2 separate regions of the Homo sapiens genome follow, and region 1 is linked to region 2. Evidence: promoter capture Hi-C in human tissues and cell types (Jung and others, 2019). All regions are on one chromosome and are shown on one strand. The core of a region is centred on a gene start or on the middle of the fragment in contact, and the rest is flanking DNA. Distances in the headings are between cores, read along the strand shown.

Region 1 (4,702 bases), core at 2,129-4,628, 57 kb before region 2:
TTCAGCTTTTGGACTCTTGAACCTGTTGAGGACTAAACTCTGATTTTTTTTATCTTGCCCAAATTCCTGTCTAAGGGGTCTGGGGTGTAATGCCCTATGCCCTACAAACCATAAATTCTCATCAGATGGGTTTTATTTAACTCTGTATATCATGACTTATTTTCTAACCTGACCCTGGCATAACATTACGAGACAAGGAAGAAAATAAAAATATTTTACCCAACAACATGTTTATTTGCCATATTTTGAAATAGCCCTGCAAAGCTGTTCTTTGTGGGGAAAAATTTGCATCTGTAAAGAATCTGTATTAAATAGCTAGATCTTTTTCTTCCAGACCCTCCCAATCCTTCAGAGACTAACTAAGATCTGAATAAGAAACATTTGTCATCTATTTTCTCTAAGGGCAGCCACTATAAGACTTCAAAAGAACTTTGGTCTCCACAATCTTTATCTTAACCTGAACATTCCCTTTCTATCAATCCAAGGTCTTCAGACAAACTCAACCAATTGTCAACCAGAAAATGTTTAAATTCACCTACAGCCTGGAAGCGCCCCCCATCCAACCCGCTTTGAGTTGTCCCACCTTTCTGGACCACACCAATGTATTTCCTAAATGTATTTGATTGATGTCTCATGTCTCTCTAAAATGTATAAAACCAAGCTGTGCCCTGACCACCTTGGGAACATGTTCTCAGGACCTCCTGAGGGCTGTGTCATGGGCCATGGTCACTCATATTTGGCTGAGAATAAATCTCTCCAAATATTTTACAGAGTTTGAGTCTTTTCTTCGACACTATCAATCGAGGAAAATGACTAGTCTCAGTCATTTTAGGAGACTTATTTGCCAAAGTTAACAACGCACCCGAGAGACAGATATATGCCTTTCTTCAAAGATGATTTTGAGGGTTTCAAATTTAAAGGGGAAAGGCCAGGATATTGAGAAACACTCAGTTTTTACATAAACAAAAGGGGGAGAGGAAAAATGTGGGGAATCTGCATTTTACCTAAGATAACACAGCCAAAATGGGGTAGGGGGACAATCACATACACATTTGTGTCTGGCGGGCCAGGTTGACTGCACCTGTAAAGATAAGCTATCAACTTGCATTGCATGGAGAAATTTTAACAGCTCACTAGGAATTTCCTTGTGGGAAAAATATGGGGGAGGCACGTAGCTTTTCATCTAGTAGCCATCTTATTTAGGAACCAAAAGGGGAGGCAGGTTTGCATGACCCAGTTCCCAGCTTGACTTTTCTCTTTGGCTAAATGAGTTTGGGGTCGCAAAATTTAATTTCCTTTCACAAACCTACACCAATGGTTTGCCAGGGCTCTTGGGCCTTTGACCACAGACTGAAGGCTGCACTGTTGGCTTCCCTACTTTTGAGGTTTTGGGACTCGGACTGGCTTCCTTGCTCCTCAGCATGCAGATGGCCTATTGTGGGACTTTACCTTGTGATTTTGTGAGTCAATACTCCTTAATAAACTCCTTTTCATATTTACATCTATCCTATTAGTCCTGTCCCTCTAGAGAACCCTGGCTAATACACCCTCCTTGCTGATCCTCATGTGTCTAGAGCCTTTGCTCTTCCCCAGATATCAGCATGGTTTTTTCCCTCACTTTTTTTTTTTTTTTTTTTGGAGGTGGAGTCTACGCTGTCACCCAGGCTGGAGTGCAATGGCATGATCTCAGCTCACTGCAACCTCTGCCTCCTGGGTTCAAGTAATTCTTCTGCCTCAGCCTCCTGAGTAGCTGGGATTACAGGTGCCTGCCACCACTCCCAGCTAATTTTTGTATTTTTAGTATAGACAGGGTTTCACCATGTTGGCCAGGCTGGTCTTGAACTCCTGACCTCATGATGCACCTGCCTTGGCCTTCCAAAGTGCTGGGATTACAGGAGTGAGCCACCACACCTGGCCTCCCTCCCTCCCTTTCTATCTTCTCACTGTGATTCATTTTTCTTCAGAGCACTTCTTAAATTCAGACATTTTGCATACATATCTTTGTATTGTCTGACTCTCCATGTGAGAATATAAGTTTCATAAGGACAACAGTTTTGTTTGCTCATTACTGTGTCTCCGTACATGTTTGAGGTGTTTAATAAATATTTGTTAAATGAATGAATGAATGAGATCAAGTAAATTGAAAAAAGTACAAGGGACAAGAAAAGGAAAATGAGAGGCTCAATGATGAATTTCAAAGTTACTTTTTGTATATCATCCCATGTAGTAATATGCAATAAAGGATTTCTAAGTCACTTTAATGAATGAATCCATTAACATTAAAAATACGGTATTAGTTTGTTTTCATGCTGCTAATAAAGACATACTCGAGACTGGGTAGTTTAGAAAGGAAAGAATTTTAATTGACTCACAGTTCCACATGGCTGGGGAAGCCTCACAATCATGGTGGAAGATGAAGGAAGAGCAAAGGGACGTCTTACATGGCAGCTAGCAAAAAGATAGTTTGTGCAGGGGAACTCCTCTTTATAAAATCATCAGATCTGGTGAGACTTATTGACTATCATGAGAACACCATGGGAAAGACCCACCCCCATGATTCAATTACCTCCCACTAGGTCCTTCCCACAACACATGGGAATTAAGGGAGCTACAATTCAAGAAGAGATTTGGGTGGGGACACAGCCAAACCATATCAAATACTTTAAATAAACTTTTTTATTTAGACTTCTAAAAATTTAGTCTTTATATACCTTTATAAGTATTATTTTAAAATACATGATTATGTAAATACACAATAAAGGTTTTTAATTTTTAATTTTATATTTTATTTAGTATGCAGATAACTAATCTTATATTAAATAAGATTGTATATCTACTATATTGAAATTACCACTTTAATGAACTGTTTCCTTAGTAAAGATTTATATTCATTATTATGTGTATATATATTCATTTTTTCCATGATTATTGTACCAAGTATATTTTTATTGTTATTAATCACCACTTTTAATCAAAGTAGTCCACTTTTGCTTTCTGCAAAGAGAAAAATAGAACACAGAAATCTATGAAATGTCTAGCTAAATTTTTATGAGTACACATTTTTGTGAAAGGAAAACAAATCTTGAGGACCCAAAATCACTTAGCTAATGGGAAGAGTCAAGTTAGGAACTACTTAGGGCAAAGCCTACCTCCCCTTCTACTCAAAGTCATCCCTCTGCTCACTGAGATAAGTGCATATCTGATTGCCTCATTTGGAGAGGCTAATCGAAAACTCAAAAGAATACAACCATTTGTCTCTTATCAACCTATGACCTAGAAGCCCCCTCCCTGCTTTGAGCTGTCCTGCTTTTGCTTTGAGTTGTCCCACCTTTCCAGACAGAACCAATGTTCATCTTGCGTATGTTGACTGATGTCTTATGTCTCCGAGCGTATAAAACCAAGCCGTGCTCTGAGCACCTTGGGCACATGTTGTTAGGACCTCCTGAGGCTGTGTCACAGGCATATGTCCTCAACCTTGGCAAAACAAACCTTGTAAATTAACTGAGACCTGTCTCAGATATTCGGGGTTCACATTTTGGTATCCATGAAGGGAATCTGAGCAGAGGTACCCTGATCTGTAAGATACAATAAATCTTTCTGAGTTCTCTTCAAAGTGTTTAGCCTGTTAACTTCCTTACTCAGGCAAGACGTGTCCCACTGCCCCACTGCGGTGGCCTCAGGGAGGTGAGATTGAGACCCACCCTTGGTGACGAATAAACCCACACTCTCAGCAACGTGGGGAGGAGAGGCTTGCAATACCGTGGCGACCAGGTAAACTCTGTGCACAGACCAAGGTACGAAACGTCACAGGGGCGACAAAGTACTTCTTTGGTGGTCAGAGGGGGTGGTCGGGGCATTCTGGAGGTTGAAAGTGCATGAATGGTAACAAGCACTACTGCTGTGAGGAATGAGTGAGTCCAATCTACGATTCCGTGGTCACCACATATGGCTTAGGGCGGCCCTTTGGGGGTCCCATCAGGGATTTATACTGACCCGCCATCAATGGTAAGAGGGACCTGAAACATTCCCGAGAGGGAAGTGGCCAGAGCAGACGAAGCAAAAGAAGGGTTCAAGGGACCTCCAGCAGATGGAGATAAGCGAATTAAGCCTTAGCAAAGCTTCCACTGAAGGATAGGCAAGAGATCGCTAATATGAGGGGTTGAGCCACAAGGAACTCCCCAAATTGGCAAGAGATTCCTAATAAGAGGGATTGAGCCTAGCCAGGACCCAGTATGGGAAATATTACAAGCAAAAAAGATGAAGTTAGCAACAAAGATATCCCCTTGATAGTCCCTTAGGTCTCAAAGATATACCACCTGATAACCCTCTAGGTCTCATGCTAAAAGGCTGGGAAGATAATGAAAGAACTAAACATAAATAAAAGCAACAAATGATAAAATATTGCTGTTCTATTTGGACTCAAAGACCTAACCTCAATCCCTCAATCTTCTGGCCAAAGTTTGGGTCGACTGAGGATATACTATGTCAACTTTTAATTCAACATGTAAATAATAAAAGCCCAGTTTCTCAAGAAAAACTGGTCTATGCTCTTTGTTGGAAGCAAAGACCTGTCCTCCCTTTTCCCTTATGCCCCTGCCCCTACTGTAGAACCAGTGAGGGAAGGGGCTCAGGGAATCCTGGCAAACGAGAACAGCACACGGGATCCCCTAGGCCATCCTCCACCTAATACCCCTGGTCCCCC
Region 2 (4,205 bases), core at 663-3,162:
GAATTTAAAGAGGAGCTATAAAATATTCCCTGCTCCCATTTGCAATTATGTGAACATAATTCTCACCATAAGTTTCACCGAGATGGTAGTTATGTCACCTGCAAAGCCCTTGAAGCTGCAAAGGCCAACTCTGCACACAGGAAGCCATGACGGGCACCCAAAGTCCGGCCAAATGGAAAGCAGCAGGCACCCCGGGAGTGTGAGGAAGGGCCTTCTTTCCATCTCATGCAGCCAAATCCTCCTCCCCCTACCTGGGGCCCTCAACTCTCTACCTCACGTCCTCAACCATCCTCCTGCGACCTCACGCCCCCAAACCCTCCTCCCCCCACTGCACGCCATCAACTCTCCTCTGTCCACCTCACACCCTCAACCCTCCTACCCCCACACCTCATGCCCCTAAACCCTCTTCCCCACACCTCATGCCCCCAAACCCTCCTCCCTCCACCTCACGCCCCAACCCTCCCTCGTCCCACTACCTCTCACCCTCAAACCTCTTCCCCCTACCTCACGCCCTCAACCCTCCTCCCACATCATGCTCTCAAGCCCTTCCCACCAACTCACGCCCTCAACCCTTCTCCCCAACCCTCCTCCCACACCTCATGCCCCCAAATCCTCCTCAGCCCCTAAATCCTCCTCCATCCACCTCACACCCTCAACCCTCTTACCGCCACCTCACGCTCCCAAACCATCCCCACCAACTCATGCCCTCAATCCTCCCCTGCACTTCATACTCCCAAACCCTCCCCACCAACTCACGCCCTCAACCCTCGTCCCTGCACTTCAAGCTCTTAACTCTCCCCTGCACCTCATGCTCCCAAACCGTCCCCCCACCTCACGCCCTCAACCCTCCTCCCCCCACCTCGCGGTCCAAAACCCTCCTTCCCCTCACCTCACACCCTCAACCCTCCCCCACACCTCATGCTCCCAAATCCTCCTCCCACCTCACGTCCTCAACCCTCCTCCTACACCTCACACCTTCAACTCTCCCCCACACCTCATGCTCCCAAACCCTCCCCCCACCTCACGCCCTCAACCCTCCTCCAAACGCCTCACACCCCCAAATCCTCCTTCGTCCATCTCACACCCTCAACCCTCCCCCCTCCACCTTACTCCCCCAAACCCTCCTCCTCCCACCCCACGCTCCCAAACCCTCCCCCCACCTCACAGCCTCAACCCTCCTCCCCCCACCTCACGCTTTCAAACCCTTCCCCCACCTCACGCCCTCAACCCTTCCCCTCACCTCACGCCCTCAACCCTTCCCCTCACCTCACGCCCTCAACCCTTCCCCTCACCTCACACCCTCAACCCTTCCCCTCACCTCACGCCCTCAACCCTCCTCCCTCCCACCTCATGCTCCCAAACCCTTCCCTCACCTCACGCCCTCAACCTCTTCTCCCCACCTCATGCCCTCAATTCTCCTCCCCCCACCTCCCGGCCTCAACTCTTCTCCCCCCACTCCCAGCCTTAACTCTCCTCCCCACACCTCACGCCCCCAAACTTCCCTCCGCCTACCTCACGCGTCCAAACCCTCCTCTCTCCACCTCATGCGCCCAAATCCGTCTCTTCCCTGTCTCACACACCCCTAAATCCTCCTCTCTCTTCCCTCCCAGGCCTCCAAATCCTCGTCTCCTTCAAACCGCCTCCAGAGTTACTCCGAATTCTCTCTCGCCCTCTAAAACTCGCTCTTTTCCCTTAAAATAGCTCCCCTCGATACCTTAATTCCCGCGCGACCCCGGACTCCTGGCTCCCGTAACTCACGAGAAGAAGGGGTCATCCTCAAAACTGCTGTTCAGCATCCTGAACATTCTGGCTCTGTCTTGGGTGGCGGCAGCCGCGGACAGATTGGAAAAACGATGTTAACTCGCCGCGGCCGCGACAAGAGCTAGCCTCCAGTACGGACGACGCCTCACTCGCCGCGGCGCAGGCGGTGCCCGCCGGGATAGGAGGTGCGTGACACCGAGCTGCTTTCCCATTGGACATTGCTCTGTGACGTCACCAGGACGAGGCGGGGAGCAATGCGCCGCTGCCCTGGCAACCGCAATCAACACAGTGGAGGCGAGAAGTCTGGCCTTGCGCCGGCCGGGGAGCTTTTCGCCAAGGCTCCTGTGGGATGGGATAGCTTGTTCTCTGGGCTGCAGGAACCAAAACATTAGACCACCCTTTCTGTGACCTTGGGCATGCCGCCCTCGGTTCCGAGCCGCAAGTCTTTCTTTCGGGGAAAATGAAAAGGGGTCAAGATTTGGACCAGATGACACCCAATGTCCCATTCAACGGTCGCATTCTGTCATCCACAGGAATTAGTCCTGTATCCGAAACATTCTCTGGTAGTCAAAAGCTGTGAGCAAATAATAAGAAAAAATGTGCAAAACGTTTTTTAGTACAGTTAGCAAATAGTGTACTCAGTTGTTGAAGGAAATGGGATGAAGCCTATCAGATTTCAACAAACTTATTTACCTCTTGAGAAAGCTGCTCTCTTTTCGGTTGTCCTTCTGTGTCTCTCTTTCAAAGATCAAGTCTCACTGCGATGCTGATATGTTTTTAACACTTCTCCAGCATTTCTTAACCTAACAGCAGGTTTCAGGCACAGGCCTGCAGCAAGCAGCCATATCCAACTAAAATTCCACTACTATATGTTTTTATTTGCATTACATTTATCAGGGAGCTTTCTATTTATGGCAAGGAAACTGATTTTAAATTTAAATCAGTGATATACATCAAGAGCTAGATTTTGCATTTTTAAGTGAAAAAGTAAGCTATCAAATAGAACAGGTGGAATTTGGATATGGTGGGGCGGAGGGGTAGGCAGAGCAGGGGAGAGGAACATCGTGATAGTGGTACTCAAATTACTAAGTTTTAGAAAACACTATCACGGGGCCTTTCAGGAGCCTGGAGACAGATGGAGGGGAAGACAGAAGAGAGATTAAGGAGAAGAATGGTAAGAGTATAAGAAAAGAGAAAATACATCTTGCATGTCCACCCTTAATTCAGTGAGCTCCCCAGCTTCTCTACGTGGCTGTCTTGCAGAGATAAAGGGGCGTCCATAGCTCATCAGGGCCCCCTGGGATCAGGCCAGAGGGGTGGCACTTTGCCAGCATGAAGAAGTGTGCAAGCCCTGATTTGGAGGTGACAGGAGTAGTCAGGGGTTATTTTGAGAGCTGGAAATTTAATCGTTTGGATCTTTTACTCCCCATCCCCCTTTTTTAGCCAAGTTCTCTGGCAGCTTCCTTCCCCTGAGACTGGTGGCATGGGGTAGGGCAGACTTCACAGCCCAAGATGAGATGGCACAGCCCATCCAGGAAAGAGGATATTTTCTTTTCCTCTGGACTCAGAATAAAGCTCAGAGAACATATACACAAAATTTCGAAAATTTCTAAATAAATTTCAAGGCAAACAAAATTGTTTTATAAGACCTTAAATTGTTTTTCTCTTTAAAATAGTATAAGCACAAGATGTGAAGGAGGCCACACTTAAAAAAAAACTTGAAATGGAGTAAGTTATGTGATAAAAGATGGTGTTAAAATAGTTCTGGATTAAGGCCAAGTAAATTTGTAATGTTACCCTCTAGTTTCTGTGGGAACTTTTTTAGAATCACATTGTTATAAAAGCTTTAGTCCAGGCACAGGTTAGTCAGGGAATTAGCTGAACCTTGTGAAAGCAGTTTGGATCTAATGACAAATGCAAAAAAAAAAAAAAAGGAGGGCAGAGCAGAGTTGGCACTGAAGAGACCTTGACATCATTTTCAGAACTGATGGGTAAGAGGTGGAAATGAAAGAAAGCGTGGGTCAGGAGAGAATGAATACTCCAGCATGGGAGGAATAGAGATGCAGAACAGGACTGAGAGGAGAGGGTCCTGGACTTGGCTGTAAATATAATCATAATAGCTAATATTTATTGAATGTGTGCCAGGCACTGTTGTAGGCACTCCATATGCATTACCTCATTGAATCCTCATTAGCAGTTTTATGGAGTAGAGATGGCTTTTATCCCCATGTATAGATGATGCATTCAAGACACAGAGAAGCTGAATAAATTGCCAAGGTTCACACAGCTAGTAATTGAACTGAGCTGGGTACCTGGAGCTTTCCTCTGTGAGTGCTGGTTATATGGTATGTGAGTGATGAGTCATACTTAAAGATGCAGGATGAAAGCGGGTAATCATTTTTCAAAATCATGCTGACAAGCTAAATGGACCCAAACTAAAAAGT

Evidence for each region. Contacts are between HindIII fragments. The study calls those that stand out against the background at their distance.
Region 1: a contact is called between a fragment that was not itself captured here and the fragment with the promoter of MLF1 in region 2, in 1 of the 25 tissues and cell types used here (psoas muscle).

Annotation. Positions count from the first base shown.
Region 1 is chr3:158,627,105-158,631,806 of GRCh38, reverse strand. No RefSeq gene overlaps it. Among named protein-coding and RNA genes, the nearest start is that of GFM1, 15 kb to the left of the region's middle. RefSeq lists an enhancer at 4,364-4,702. The HindIII fragment of the contact is 7,108 bases long and covers 1-4,702 here.
Region 2 is chr3:158,568,901-158,573,105 of GRCh38, reverse strand. MLF1 (myeloid leukemia factor 1) reads right to left here and starts at 1,912. Exons shown (of 8, transcript NM_001369783.1): 1 at 1,759-1,912. The coding sequence starts at 1,805. MLF1-DT (MLF1 divergent transcript) reads left to right here and starts at 2,040. Exons shown (of 5, transcript NR_104147.1): 1 at 2,040-2,935. The HindIII fragment of the contact is 8,231 bases long and covers 1-4,205 here.